Linked DNA regions of Homo sapiens: region 1 is linked to region 2. Evidence: promoter capture Hi-C in human tissues and cell types (Jung and others, 2019). All regions are on one chromosome and are shown on one strand. Each heading gives the region's core, a stretch centred on a gene start or on the middle of the fragment in contact. The rest is flanking DNA. Distances are from core to core; before and after follow the strand shown.

The links. The method cuts DNA at HindIII sites, captures the fragments that hold promoters and counts their contacts. A contact is called where the count stands out against the background at its distance.
Region 1: a contact is called between a fragment that was not itself captured here and the fragment with the promoter of ZNF804B in region 2, in 2 of the 25 tissues and cell types used here (H1 embryonic stem cells and dorsolateral prefrontal cortex).

Annotation. Positions count from the first base shown.
Region 1 is chr7:89,192,469-89,197,838 of GRCh38, reverse strand. The region is part of intron 1 of ZNF804B (zinc finger protein 804B); the gene reads right to left. Among named protein-coding and RNA genes, the nearest start is that of TEX47, 400 kb to the right of the region's middle. The HindIII fragment of the contact is 4,016 bases long and covers 1-3,368 here.
Region 2 is chr7:88,757,850-88,762,831 of GRCh38, reverse strand. ZNF804B (zinc finger protein 804B) reads right to left here and starts at 3,132. Exons shown (of 4, transcript NM_181646.5): 1 at 2,748-3,132. The coding sequence starts at 2,855. RefSeq lists an enhancer at 2,442-2,986. The HindIII fragment of the contact is 17,200 bases long and covers 1-4,982 here.

The sequences.
Region 1 (5,370 bases), core at 111-2,610, 440 kb before region 2:
GTGTACAAAAATGTCAACTATCTTTAACTAAAGATATCTTTAACTCTATATAACGAAACTAAATCTAAATCCACTAACCTGTGCATATACTATTATAACAAGAAAAGGAAAAATCAAGAATCTAAGCGTGCTGTTAAGAGAAAAATATAAATTCTAATGAGTAACCGAGTGACATAGATTGAATCAAGATCTAAGATTCCTGGTTTTCTCATAATTAAAATTTCAAAAGTGCTTCTCTTTTTATTTTCATGTAGCAGTTACAAAAAAGTAGATAATATGAAAACTCTTATAGTATATACAAAATATTATAATCAAACAGCCAATGGAAGAAAAGAGGAAGAAAAATGAAAGGATTTTTATGCAGACTACATTACTTAGTGGAAGACAATTTGCAAAAGGAAGCCATCAACAAAGGCAGAGCTGGTAGTGTCACTTTTATTTTCACATATTTTGCATCTGCTTTTTATTTTCTTCCTGTCAGATTTTTGTGGCAACGCATATTGTCCCTGGAAAAACTTTTAAAACTGCTGCAGTCAGGCACTGAGGCCTTTTTGTTCTGTTCCGTTTTGTTTTGTTTTAGGTGTTAGTAGTTGAAAGATATAAAGATAATTTTTTTTCTTCAGCTTTTATTTTAAGTTCAGGGCTATCTCTGCAGGATGTGCAGGATTGTTACATAGGTAAATGTGTGACACAGTGGTTTGCTGCACAAATCATCCCATCACCTAGGTATTAAGATTGCTGGGTCAAATAGTATTTCTGCCACTAGCTCTTTGAGGAATCACCACAGTCTCCCATAATGGTTGAACTAATTTACACTCCCACCAACAGTGTAAAAGCATTCCTATTTCTCTGCAAACTTGCCAGCATCTGTTGTTTTTTGACTTTTTACTAATAGCCATTCTGATTGGCGTGAGATGCTCTCTCATTGTAGATTTGATCTGCATTTTTATAATGATCAGTGATGTTGAGCTTTTTTTCATATGTTTGTTGATCGTACATATGTCTTATTTTGAGAAGTGTCTATTCATGTCCTTTGCCCATTTTTTAATAGGGTTTTTTTCCTGTTATTTTGTTTAAGTTCCTTGTAGATGCTGGATATTACCCTTTTTTGGATGGATAGATTGCAAAAATGTTCTCCCATTTTGTAGGTTGTCTGTTCACTCTGATGATAGTTTCTTTTGCTATACAGAAGCTCTTTAGTTTAATTAGATCCCATTTGTCAATTTTTGCTTTTGTTGCAATTGCTTTTGGCATCTCTCTCATGAAATCTTTGCCTCTGCCTATGTCAGATGTTATTGCCTAGATTTTCTCCTGGGTTTTTATGGTTTTGGGTTTTACATTTAAGTCTTTAATCCATCTCGAGTTAATTTTTGTATAAGGTGTAAGGAGGGGGTCCAGATACAATTTTCTGCATATGGCTAGCCAGCTTTCCCAGCACCATTTATTAAATAGGAGTCCTTTCCCTATTGCTTATCACTGTCAGGTTTGTCAAAGATCTCATGGTTGTAGGTGTGTGGTCTTATTTCCGAATTCTCTATTCTGTTCCATTGGTCTACGTGTTGTCAAAGATCAGATGGTTTTAAGTGTGTGGCCTTATTTCCAAAGTTTCTATTCTATTTCATTGGCCTATGGGTCTGTTTTAATACTGGTATCATGCTCTTTTGGTTATTGTAGTCTTGAAGTATAGTTTGAAGTCAGGTGGTGTGGTGCCTCCAGCTTTGTTCTTTACACTTAGGATTGTATTGGCTATTCAGGCTCTTTTTTTGGTTCCATATGAATTCTAAGATAGTTTTTTCTAATTCTGTGAAGAATGTCGATGGTAGTTTAATGGGAATAGCTTCAAATCTATAAATTACTTTGGGCAGTATGGCCATTTTCATGATGTTGATTCTTCTTATTCATGAGCATGGAATAATTTTCCATTTGCCTGTGTCCTCTCTGATTTTTTGAGCAGTGGTTTATAGTTCTCTTTCAAGAGGTCCTTCACTTCTCTTGTAAATTATATTTCTAGGTATTTTCTTCTTTTTTTTAAGCAATTGTGAATGGGAGTTCTTTCATGATTTGGCTCTCTGCTTGCCTACTGTAGGTGTATAGAAATGCTAGAAATTTTTGCACATTGATTTTGCATCCTAAGATTTGCTGAAGTTTCTTATCAGCTTAAGAAGCTTTTGGTTTGTAGTTCTCCTTGAAGAGGTCCTTCACATCCCCTGTAAGTTGGATTCCTAGGTATTTTATTCTCTTTGAAGCAATTGTGAATGGGAGTTCACTCATGATTTGGCTCTCTGTTTGTCTGTTATTGGTGTATAAGAATGCTTGTGATTTTTGTACATTGATTTTGTATCCTGAGACTTTGCTGAAGTTGCTTATCAGCTTAAGGAGATTTTGGGCTGAGACAATGGGGTTTTCTAGATATACAATCATGTCATCTGCAAACAGGGACAATTTGACTTCCTCTTTTCCTAATTGAATACCCTTTATTTCCTTCTCCTGCCTAATTGCCCTGGCCAGAACTTCCAACACTATGTTGAATAGGAATGGTGAGAGAGGGCATCCCTGTCTTGTGCCAGTTTTCAAAGGGAATGCTTCCAGTTTTTGCCCATTCAGTATGATATTGGCTGTGGGTTTGTCATAGATAGCTCTTATTATTTTGAGATATGTCCCATCAATACCTAATTTATTGAGAGTTTTTAGCATGAAGGTTGTTGAATTTTGTCAAAGGCCTTTTCTGCATCTATTGAGATAATCATGTGGTTTTTGTCTTTGGTTCTGTTTATATGCTGGATTACATTTATTGATTTGCATATATTGAACCAGCCTTGCATCCCAGGGATGAAGCCCACTTGATCATGGTGGAAATAAAAGAGGATACAAACAAATGGAAGAACATTCCATGCTCATGGGTAGGAAGAATCAATATCATGAAAATGGCCATACTGCCCAAGGTAATTTATAGATTCAATGCCATCCCCATCAAGCAACCAATGACTTTCTTCACAGAATTGGAAAAAACTACTTTAAAGTTCATATGGAAGCAAAAAAGAGCCCGCATCGCCAAGTCAATCCTAAGCCAAAAGAACAAAGCTGGAGGCATCACACTACCTGACTTCAAACTATACTACAAGGCTACAGTAACCAAAACAGCATGGTACTGGTACCAAAACAGAGATATAGATCAATGGAACAGGACAGAGCCCTCAGAAATAACACCGCATATCTACAACTATCTGATCTTTGACAAACCTGAGAAAAACAAGCAATGGGGAAAGGATTCCTTATTTAATAAATGATGCTGGGAAAACTGGCTAGCCATATATAGAAAGCTGAAACTGGATCCCTTCCTTACACCTTATACAAAAATTAATTCAAGATGGATTAAAGACTTAAATGTTAGATCTAAAATCATAAAAACCCTAGAAGAAAACCTAGGCATTACCATTCAGGACATAGGCATGGGCAAGGACTTCATGTCTAAAACACCAAAAGCAATGGCAACAAAAGCCAAAATTGACAAATGGGATCTAATTAAACTAAAGAGCTTCTGCACAGCAAAAGAAATACCATCAGAGTGAACAGGCAACCTACAAAATGGGAGAAAATTTTCGCAACCTACTTATCCGACAAAGGGCTAATATCCAGAATCTACAATGAACTCAAACAAATTTACAAGAAAAAAACAAACAACCCCATCAAAAAGTGGGCAAAGGACAAGAACAGACACTTCTGAAAAGAAGACATTTATGCAGCCAAAAAACATATGAAAAAATGCTCACCATCACTGGCCATCAGAGAAATGCAAATCAAAACCACAATGAGATACCATCTCACACTAGTTAGAATGGCAATCATTAAAAAGTCAGGAAACAACAGGTGCTGGAGAGGATGTGGAGAAAAAGGAACTCTTTTACACTGTTGGTGGGACTGTAAACTAGTTCAACCATTGTGGAAGTCAGTGTGGCGATTCCTCAGGGATCTAGAACTAGAAATACCATTTGACCCAGCCATCCCGTTACTGGGCATATACCCAAAGGACTATAAATCATGCTGCTATAAAGACACATGCACACGTATGTTTATTGTGGCACTATTCACAATAGCAAAGACTTGGAATCAACCCAAATGTCCAACAGTGATAGACTGGATTAAGAAAACGTGGCACATATACACCATGGAATACTATGCAGCCATAAAAAATGATGAGTTCATGTCCTTTGTAGGAACATGGATGAAGCTGGAAACCATCATTCTCAGCAAACTATCACAAGGACAAAAAACCAAACACAACATGTTATCACTCATAGGTGGGAATTGAACAATGAGAACAAATGGACACATGAAGGGGAACATCACACTCTGGGGACTGTTGTGGGGTGGGGGGAGGGGTGAGGGATAGCATTAGGATGTATACCTAATGCTAAATGACGAGTTAATGGGTGCAGCACACCAGCATGGCACATGTATACATGTGTAACTAACCTGCACATTGTGCACACGTACCCTAAAACTTAAAGTATAATAATACGAATAAAAAAAAATAAAGATAGAAAGTAGACTATAAAAAAAAAAAACGAAGCTTTTGGGCTGAGATGATAGGGTTTTCTAGATATAGGATCATGTTATTTGCAAACAAAGATGGTTTGACTTCCTCTCTTCCTGTTTAGAAGCCCTTTATTTCTTTCTCTTGCCTGATTTCCCTGTCCAGGACTTCCAATACTATGCTGAATAGGAGTGGTGAAAGAGGGCATCCCTGTCTTTTGCCAGTTTTCAAGGTGAATGTTCCCAGCTTTTGCCCATTCAGTATGATATTGGCTGTGGGTTTGCCATGTATGGCTCTTATTATTTTAAGGCATGTTCCTTCAATACCTAGTTTATTGAGTTTTTAACATGAAAGGATGTTGAATTTTTTTGAAGGCCATTTCTGCATCTATTGAGATAATCATGTGGTTAGTTTGTAGTTCTGTTTATGTGATTAATCATGTTTATTTATTTATGAATGTTGAACTAACCTTGCATCCTGGGATAAATACTATTTGATCATGGTGGATAGGCTTTTTGATGTGCTGCTGGATTTGGTTTTCTAGTATTTTGTTGAGGATGTTTGCATTGATATTCATCATGGACACTGGCTTGAAGTTTTCTTTTTTTGTTGTGTCCCTGCTAGGTATGGTGTCAGAATGATGATGGCCTCATAGAATGAATTGGGTAGGAGTCCTTCCTTCCCAATTTTCTGGAATAGTTTCAGTATAAATGGTAATGGTAATATACATCTGGTAGTTTCAAAAACAATAAGTCGCTATAGGTTACTTTGCATTTCATAAGATTTTATATAAATGGAATCATAGAACATGCACTATATTTGTCTGACTTCACTTA
Region 2 (4,982 bases), core at 1,883-4,382:
AGTTAGTTAAGTCAACTAAGAATATCTCTATACTAAATAAACTGAGTTTCAGTGAGTGGAAATAATTAAAGTCATTGATGTAAAGGTCAATTTTAGGTCATTCCTGGCACTAAATTTGAAAAAAAAAAAAAGTCAGAGTAGCTATGTTTTTTTAAGGAAATAGATGAATGTATTTTATGGATCTCTGAGTTTAACATTTATACTAAAGGAAAAAAATCAATAAAGTTATGTCAACCTGAAAATAACTGGGGAATGTGTATTGCTGAATTAAAAAAAGATCTATAACCACAGTTTACAGTTTCATATTTTGCAATTAATTAGTAAGGAAGGCAAACACACATTTATCTAGATTAGGAAAGTTTTCAAGTGTGTAAGGGTCTAAGGTCCAGAAGGTAGTGATCCACTTCACCTTAGGGAGAAAGGCTAAGTGTTATGTAATGGGAAGAGGACCTCAACTTGTTGGAAGACTCATCTCAACCACCTGCCAATGATAGAGAATGAATAAACACAAATTTTCATACAGTGCCCAGCTCACATGAGAAACTATTCAAATATTGAAAAAGCCATGCAAATTCCATAATAAAATGTAAAAGAAGACCAAGTAAATCAAATAGTGTTGAGAAAGTACATATATCATTTAATTTAGATATTTTTAAATGATGCATATGTAATTTAAGTACATCCAAATGTGTAAATAAATATTGGAGAGAACCTTCCAGTGAGTCAAAGTGTAGATCCTAGATAACAAAGTAAATTAATTTGTACTTTAGTAAAAACCAGCCCAGCAGTGAATAAAAATAGTGCCCTGAGGGTGGGGAGTACCTGGTGAACCCTGGTCAACCAGCACAGCCATGTGGTCAATGGGCTGTCTTCTCCCATCCACATTCACACATCCAGTCTCTATAGTGTCAGTCAGGCTCTTGGGAGATGACTGACCAAAGTGGGAGAGAAAGGACACTTTTTGACCATGTAACAGAAATTCTTCTGCAAGCCCTACAGATTTGGGAAGATGAACACCATAGTCTAACCAACTTGAATAGAACTAAACCGTGTAAGATTATGAAGCAATTCTCCCTTTATACTGAGAAGTCTTAAGGCACAAACAGTACAATGCCCTACCCAATTTAGTTTTCCATAACCAAAAGGAGGGCAAGGGAGACAGGCACGGAGATTACCAAAGCGTTGAAAAATAATACCTGTGAGAAAGGCAGAACATTGTATGTTTTCTAGATGAAATAGACTTAAAGAAGAATTTAAAGGATTTAAGTTGGCTGTAAGAAAGATTCTCCTGGCACTGTGAGTTGTTAAACATTAAAGTGGTTTGCTGAGACTGCAGGAACTCCAATTCTGAGAATCTTTAGAAATGGGAAAGATTCAGACCTGCTACTTAGAGGGACTGAATGTGGGCTTTATTAAACTAGAACTCTGCAAGTGCCTGCTAACCCTGTGAGTTTAATTGTTAAGTACTTATACAAACAGTATTTTCCATCTAACAGTTCTGACTCAGTACTGTATACAGTTGTTGGGGGGAGCAGTTGCAACAACCCACTTTTTATAGTACATAAAAGCATGTGAAGGAATAGTTTGTCATGAGGAATCCTAGTGATATCTCTGGGCACCTGTACTTTCTGATCTTAGATTTCTCATGTAAATTACATATAGCATTTATTAATAATCAAAGGCTTTTATAATATGTTGCAGTTTTGAATAATTCATGCTAAAGAAGCATTAAACCATGATGGAAAATATCAAACATAAAAAAATTAAAGTTGGGCAATTTCAGTTTTCCCTCTTGATATCATACAGACTTAAATACTGTTTTTTATATGAAACCTCAAAAGTTGGTCTTTAAGTTTGGATACTTAGTCACTAGTAGTCCAAAACTAATATATATATATATTTATTATATATATATTTATTATATATATATTTATTATATATATATATAAATTACACACACATACACATTCACACACATTTTCTTGAAACATATTTGGAGCCTTAAAACATAATAGCATGTACCAAGAAATGAATTAATAATGTATTTAACTCATATAATCTGGATGAAATTATTTTATAAAAAGAATGTGAATAAACTGAATAGTAACTAAATTGAATAGTTTACTAAGTTAAAAAGCAATCACGTTAATTGCATGTTAATATATTTGTATATTATACAATAAATTATCCAACTCAGATTTCCATAAAGAATTCTCTTACTTCCCCTTAAAGAATGTGCATAGTTGAGCATTAGATATAATCAAGTTTTCACTACCTATAACTTTCCTTTTGCCAATGATTTGAGGGAAAATCTTTGAGTTTTTCTCACAAAGTAACAGTAGCATTATTAAACTAATCTCAACTGATGACTTTACAAAAGCACATTATAACGTGCCACTCAAACTTTCTACACTGCTCAAATCAGCAGATTCGTAAGTTGACATAGCACAGAGGAGCTACCTTCTGAGCCCTGCAGTTGACTGCATTCAGTAAGTATTTACATCCGTAGCACTATAGATCCTACTGACTGAATTGAAAATACACATGTAAATACACACCCCTCTCTGTGTCACAGTCTGTCAATAAATTGTATAAACGGACACGATGTATCTCCATACCTATGGATAAGGTATACGTTTTAGATGTCCACCACCTACTCATTGTATCAGGATACTATCTCTCAATATCTTTTTGTTTGTGTTGAGTTGGAACGTTTGTGTATGTATGTGTGTGCGCGCGCACATTACCGGAGAGGGAGATCCGTTCTTGCACAGGGGTCCCCTGAAGACTCCTTTAATGCCCCGGTAGTGCCCATTGCTGAGATGTCTCGAACTGATGACCAGGTAACAAGCCATGTGGGTCCGGGCGGAGGCGCAGAGTCTCAACTCCTCACCAGGCGACCAGCCGTGGAAAGCGGGCGGGTTTCTCAGCGGCAACAGCGACTACCACCTCCCGAGAAGACGCGGCCAGCAGGACGCAGGGGGAGGCGGTGGCAGCGCGTCCCTGCTCCGCGCCCCGTGCGGGGCTCCTGCTGCCGACAGCTGCTGCTCTGACAGAGGCGGCGGCGGCGACAGCACAGAGCACGGAGGGGACCCGGCGAGCCAGTCCACATGCTGCTCTGACGAGGTGGCTGCTCAACCGCGGGCCAGCGATATATTTATTTAAGGACAACTTCCAGGGTCCACCAGGGAATCAGGAATTCCCCCGCCCCTTTCCTCCCGCCCCCTGCCTTCGCGCCTGGCGCCTGCCCGGGGGATGCTCAGGCGCGGGTACCCATCGTCCGGCCGGGGGCGTCCTGGGCTGCTGGCTGCAGTGTGAAGATCCAGCAGCAGCCGCCGCCACCGCCGCTGCTTTGTGGGGAGAGTGGCGGGGAGTCCTTGGGAGCGCCAAAGCGCTGCCCCCGCTGCAGTCGGGAGAGGGCGGAGGAGGAGACGGGCGGGCCGGGGTGAGGACAGGGAGTTGGGGACGCGGCGACCTGTGCTTGAGGAGGGCAGTTAGCGCCTCTGCTGGGAGCTGTGGGCTCGGGGCTGCCCAGGAGGCTCAGGTGTGCTGTGGGGCGAGGCCAGGAGGTGACAGCTGCCGCTGCAGCCGCGGGGGGCTCTCGGGGCTGCAGGACCCGCCTCTCCCACCTCCCGGCCTCAGCCGCCCAGCCCCCCGGTTCTTCTGCCCTATCTCTGAGCCAACTTTCTACTGTTTGGGAGTCACCTGGGAGGACTGGGGAGGCTGTGGTGGAGGAGATGGGCAGGAGGAGGGCGTTTTCTTTACTCTTTCGTTGCCTGCTGGCCTTCAGCTTTTCTTCAGCGCTCTGGCTGACGGCGGCGTTGGCAGAAGCAACAGCTCCCCAGCCGGTTGCAAGAATGAGCTGTGCAGCCACAAATAGGGCAGACAGATTAGATGCGCCGTGGTAGGGAACGCACGGACGAGGAAAGTTTTGGGCAGAAAACTTATATAAGGTATAGAAACGAGACATGCATACGTATATGTGCATATACATGCACGTACCCAGAGTTATGAAGATTCACTTACAAGCCTTTCTGTATCTTAGCGAGGCACATATTTTTGGTCTCTATAAGACCTCTGTGCTTTCAAAACCCCCAATAATCACCCCTCTCAGAAGTGGTTTTTAACGGACCTTATTTCGTTTACCGTAATTTAAGCCACCAGGGAGCGAGCTGCACTGAGAATAAAAAGACCTGGGCAGAAATGTGCTCTGAAAGGAGAAGATAGCCCTCCCAGGGTTTGGAGACACCCTGCACTCTCCTCCACCCCGCGGTTGCTTAATGCGGTTCTGCAATCCATCTCTGCCTCACCTCGCCTTGTCTGTGCCTGGGAGAAGGTAAAGGTTCACCTCCTCTCAGTCTGTTGCTTCAGCGCTGGAATTGAAAGGCTACCGCCAATGCGCTAATTCTCCCCAGTATTGTCCTCTCCTGTCTCCCACAATGCCCCATTCGCATCCCGGTTGACATTGACACAAAAGCAGAAACAGGTTAAAAGGAAAAAAAAACTGTTAATTTAATTTTTCCTATTCAGGCAACTCATAAAATTCTTAAGCAAAAAAGGAACAAAAAAGAATCTAATTATAACTTTTGTAACTACCCAATAAAAGCTTGACTTTTTGTTTACATCATTACAATGGCTTAATATCCTTAATATTTTATTTAAAAAATACATAGATGTACTTCTCATTTTAAAGGTTTTATATAGTCTTTTAAAGTGTTTGCAAAGCTTCTGAGTATATAAGGGAAAAATGCCAATTCCTTGCAAACCTTCAGAATAAAAATTACTGAAACTGGGATAGTGCAATGTAAATCTCAGGAATTGTTTATTTTAAATAAATTGTTGGTAAGAACTTTTGAAATAAAAATAAATTTATAGAGCAGTGGCAGCAGATGCAACAGATCCATCTTCTCCTTTCTATTGATGTATTTAACACCACAACAATGGCATGTTTAACAACGTAGTGTTTGTTCAACTTACAGCTG